Regions from separate parts of the Homo sapiens genome. Here region 2 is linked to region 1. The links are contacts of gene promoters, found by promoter capture Hi-C in blood cells and fetal thymus (Javierre and others, 2016). All regions are on one chromosome and are shown on one strand. Each heading gives the region's core, a stretch centred on a gene start or on the middle of the fragment in contact. The rest is flanking DNA. Distances are from core to core; before and after follow the strand shown. Region 1 holds the start of NRIR (negative regulator of interferon response). Region 2 overlaps LOC107985841 (a long non-coding RNA gene).

What was found. Contacts are between HindIII fragments. The CHiCAGO score rates a contact against its expected background, and 5 or more counts as called.
Region 2: a contact is called between a fragment that was not itself captured here and the fragment with the promoter of NRIR in region 1, in 1 of 17 cell types (M0 macrophages). The highest score is 5.5, in M0 macrophages.

Annotation. Positions count from the first base shown.
Region 1 is chr2:6,839,078-6,841,777 of GRCh38, reverse strand. It overlaps NRIR (negative regulator of interferon response), which reads left to right and starts at 1,314. Exons shown (of 4, transcript NR_126359.1): 1 at 1,314-1,487. It also overlaps a transcript of CMPK2 not described here. The HindIII fragment of the contact is 12,024 bases long and covers 1-2,700 here.
Region 2 is chr2:4,137,647-4,140,346 of GRCh38, reverse strand. All of the region lies in intron 1 of LOC107985841 (a long non-coding RNA gene), which reads left to right. Among named protein-coding and RNA genes, the nearest start is that of LINC01304, 160 kb to the right of the region's middle. The HindIII fragment of the contact is 4,649 bases long and covers 1-2,700 here.

The DNA of each region.
Region 1 (2,700 bases), core at 65-2,564:
TGAAATAGCTGAAGGAAATAGGCTAGCAGACCAAACAGCTAAGTCAGCAGTAAGAAGACCCCAAAGTCCCAGCACACTTGAAGGCTGTCTAATTTGGGAGGGCTCCATAAGGGAAATAAAGCCTCAGTATTCTCCTGCAGAGATAGAATGGGCCACCTCTCGAGGATACACTTTTCAGCCCTCAGGATGGTTACAATCAGAGGATGGCAAATGTTATTTGTCAGTCTCCAGTCAGTGGAAAGTTCTTAAGATCCTTCACCAAACTTTTCACTTGGGAAAGAATAAAACTCATCAAATAGCCCAGAGGTTGTTCTCAGGTAAATATCTACCAAAAACAGTCAAACAAATTGTTAATGCTTATAAGATCTGCCTCAAAAACAATCCCCTCAACAAATGGCATCTCCCCATCCCCAGCAACACAAAGAATGGGAAACTGCCCAGGGGAGGACTGGCAAATGGATTTTACCCATTTTCCAAAGATAAGGGGAATTCAGCACCTCTTGTTGTGGGTGGATGCCTTCACTAGCTGGGTAGAGGCATTTCTATGTCAAACAGAAAGTCCTCTAAGGTGATAAAAGCATTAGTCAATGAAATAATTCCTCGTTTTGGACTCCCTAAATACCTCCAAAGTGACAATGGCCCCTCATTTAAGGCAGCTGTTACCCAAGGGGTCTCAAAAGCACTGAGCATACAATACCATCTTCATTGTGCTTGAAGACTGCAGTCTTCAGGGAAGGTGGAGAAAACAAATGATATCATTAAGAGACACCTCAGGAAGTGGTCTCAAGAAACTCACCTCCTCTAAACTGCTTATCTTCCTATAGCCTTAGTGCAGGTGAGGAGCACCCCTTCAAATTTGGGGTTGAAGGGGTGTTCCTTCACCCTTTTGAAATGGTATATGGACGGCCTTTCCTTACCAATGATTTTATATTACATCAGAGAACTTCTGAATTGGTTAAACATGTAACCTCCCTGGCCCAGTTCTAGCAGGAATTAAAACAGTTATCAGAATTCCAACCCCAAGAACTAGGGCCACCTCTGTTCTACCAAGGAGACTTGGTACTGGTGAAGGATTTTTCCTCTCTTTTCCCCTCTCTAGGTCCCAGCTGGGAGGAACCTTATACCATCCTTCTCTCCACCTGCTCGGCAGTGAAGTTTGTGGGACTGGAATCTTGGATTCATCACACTCGAGTCAAGGCCTGGAATGACCCCTGACATCCCAGAAGAACATCTCAGATATCAGTGTGAAAAGTCTGGGGATTTCAAACTGAAAATCCAAAAGATAAGTAAATGAGTGGGAACTCTCTGTTCAGTTCAATCCCACCCTTCCTTACCAGATACTAAAGTCATTTCTACCTTTCCTCTTGAGATTTGCTGTTAGATATTAGAACTTCTCTTTGTCACATACTTACAGGGAGATTTTGATTATCCATGGGATTCCATTCATAACCTCATAAACCACCCCCACGAAGAAATTATATATCTCGGTGAGTAAGATTTAAAGTGGAACTTTATTACTTCACACATATGGGAATTGTTGTACTCACCTTGCTCTTTGCAGTAGGACTGCATACTGTGGCACCTTCTAAGTGGAATATTGGGAAAAGAGTCTCAATTGCCATAATCTTTTGCTTAGTTATTATTCATATAGCAGGGATAGTAGTCACAGGCAAGAGATAAACATGAAGATTTTGTTACTATCAAGTTTACTAGCATTCACTGTTAGATGTAGCAATGCCTCACATTCTTTGGCTCCTACAATATCAGATATTACCGATCTCTACAACAAGACTGATTACTGGGTTTGCCCTGAACAATTTACTCAGTTTAATAACACCAATGGACTCTTTGATGATTCAGAACTCACTATCTTAGGGTTTCCCTCTGATGGCTTTACCTTAAATCATTAAGGACCTAATAGGTATAAAGGGAACATGGTATGGGAGCATTTTTAACTCCACCCAGAAAGACACACCTCCTGATGGTAAAACTCACACCCTTAGACTAGGTGAAGTTGATAGAATGATAGCCAATGCCTGTCTCTGCTTTAAGAGTAAAGGAAAAGGACCATACTCGGGAAACCTTAAATAATTGCAACAGTATGCTTGTAATTGCTGAGAGCACAGAGATCTGGAGACTAAGAAGGAACAAGGGTGACACCAAACATTGGGAGAGACTGTGGAAAAATTTTAACAATCTAGCCAGACCTCCCAGGTGGAGTTCCCAATGGGAATGTCTACCCCGGGCAGAAATGCCACCCCTCGCCAACCTTATTATCAGGTAATAAATAGCACATGGTCCTTCCCAAACATGCCCACACATGGAATCCTGGACCCTTGTATGATATTTGATAATGACAGTGATCTGCAGATTTGTGAATGAACAGGGGATGTCTGGGCCAATAGCCGCTGTAAGGAGGGTTGTCTAAGATACTGGCTGGAACATATTGCGTCTCTGATCTTTCAAAACTATATTTGCCAAACAGATTCTTCCCTCCCAGCATGTAAAGTTCCAAACAATACTGTGGATGACTATACTAAGTATGGATATCCTTATTCTAAAGATGCTTGAATTAGATGTAGGGAAGGCAACCTTATAAGGCCTGGACTAAACTTAGCTGGAACCCTCATAAATCACAACATAGAACCATCCCTTCAGGGAACAGGGCTTTACTTTCTCTGTGGCTCCAGGCTATGCTTA
Region 2 (2,700 bases), core at 117-2,616, 2.7 Mb after region 1:
TAAGTAAAGAAAAAGTGAGAAAAGGGTTCACACAGGAGCTCACCTCACATTTTAAGGACATCAAATAGAACTCACCAAACAACACCTGAATGATTCCAGTGTGAGTGAATCAGAAGCAGATAGATCAAATTTCTCCTAAACTGCATTTGCAGTTTAAAAAATCAAAGTGAAAACTGCCTTGGCCATAAGTCATTTATTTTTATCTTGAATTTAAAAATCAATGTGTTCTTCATGGCAGCCTCTGGGTAAAGATACAATAACATAAATATAATTAATGACCAATCAGCAGCAGAACCCCACTAGACTCAAACCTCATCCCCCTCATTCTTGTCATTTATTTGTTGAAATATCAACTTCCCATAAAGATGGAACAGCCTTAAACTCCAGTTCACTGGTTTAGAAACAGCACCAACCTGACAGGCATGTGGTGAAACCAGAGCTAATATTTACCGAACACTTTGACCACCTAATATGCTATACTGGCAGCAAATATCATTGTGAACTTTCTCTCTCAGATCATTTAAACCAGTGTTTGCATAATACCAAGATCTAAAAATGCAATGAATCATTTTAAAACATAAAACAAAAGTGAAAGACTTTAGAGATTAAACTGATAATAATTCTGTCAACTGGGCATAAAGCATTGTTTCTAGGCACTGTGTGGAAGTTTGCTGGAAATAACACTGACATAGTAACTGTATAAAGGTATCATACACTCCAGTTGCATCTTCCAATGGCTGACGATGGTCAATGGTTGGAACACTTGAGAGGTATGCGAGATTCCCCAAGTGCTCCAGGGCAGTGGATCTCACACTTGAGCAAGCATCAGCATCCACTGGAGGGCTGTTCAAACACAGCGACCCACGTCCAGGGTTCTGGTTGAGTGGGTCTGGGGTAGAACTTGAGAATGCAAGTTTCTAGCCAATTTTAAGGTCATGCAGATGCCGTTGTCCTACATACTATACTTTGTTGTTACTGTTGTTGTTTTTGAAACAGAGTCTCACTCTATCGCCCAGGCCAGCATGCAGTGGCAGGATCTTGGCTCACTGCAGCCTCCACCTCCCAGGTTCAAGTGATTCTCCTGCCTCAGCCTCCTGAGTAGCTGGGATTACAGGCACTCACCACTATGTCCCGCTAATTTTTGCATTTTTAGTAGAGATAGGGTTTCACCATGCTGGCCAGGCTGGTCTTAAACTCCTGACCTCTGGTGATCTGCCTGTCTCAGCCTCCCAGAGTTCTGGGATTACAGGCACAAGCCACCACACCCAGCCCCTAGGTACTATACTTTGAAATTCACTCTTCTACCAAATGCACATCCTTAAAGATGTTGTCTAAGTCCATTAGGGCTACCATAACAAAATACCTTAGACAAGGTGACTTATAAACAACAGAAATTTGTTGTTTATAAGGCTGAGAAGTTCAGGATCTGAGAAGGCTGAGAAGTTCAGGATCAAGCCACCAGCAAAGTAAATGTCTGGTGAGGATCCAGTTTCTGGTTAACAGATAACACCCTCTCACTATGTCTTCTCATGGTAGGAGGACAAACAGGCTCCCCAGGGCCTCTTATATAAGGGCACTAATCCCAGTCAGGAAGGCCCCAACCTAAAGGTTCTACTTCTTAATACTAATGCATTGGAAATTAGGTTTCAACTTATGAGTCTAGGGAGACACAAACATTCATATCATAGCAGATACAAATAGATCCTATTTCCACTTCTCTTTATAATCAATCAATAAAATGTTGCTTCCTCTAATAGGAGCCATTTAGAGAAGCCCTAAGGCCAGAGAAAGGAAGCACACATGGCCAAAAGTGGGCATTAGGTATGGGGGCACAAGACTTGGCCAACAGGTCCCTTCGTCAGTCAGCTGATAGCACTCTCTACCTTGGGGCTTTTAACTTTCTTAGAGTCGTAATTAATGCTTTTATTCCTTGTCTTAATTTTATATTGCTTATTCCTTGTTTCTCACACAAGCCCCACAAAGTTGAGATTACTAACTCATCTGACAGATATGGTGCCTGAGTTTTAAGCTGCTTAAGCAATGTAACTATGTTTACCCAGCTAGTATCAGACACTAAGTGTCAGAGCTGGGATTCAGACTTGCAACTGCATCAGTCTGACCCCAGTGTATCTGTCCATACCCTTGTACTTTATAGTATTACTGACCCCAGTGAATCTGTCCATACCCTTGTACTTGATAGTACTATACATATAGTATTATATATACTATATATTATGTACATATAAATATAGTAGTACTATATATATGCAAAACTATATATATGTATAGTTATACATACATTATTTAGATTTATATGTTTATTTGATGCCCCTACTACTGTAGGGAACCTGAAGGTCATACCTCTATTCTGTATTGCTAGCTCCTTGCTCAATGCTAGGTACGTAACAGGTGCTCCTTCATTCAGTATTTCTGAATTCCTTCTACGTGCCAGATACTGCCTTAATAAAACCAGAGAAGGAAAGAAACTCAGGTCACTACTTGGGGAAAGACTGACAATAGCCATAATAGCAAAGTCACACATCATGTTACCAGATGAAAAGTGCTGTGTGCAAAAATTAGAGCAGGGTCAGAGGGGCCTGAATGGACAAATGAATGGACGAATTATTATTAATTCCTAGAAAATTCACCTTCCAAATAGGAGTGTCCCTTTTATATTTCTACGGACATAGGAAAGACACT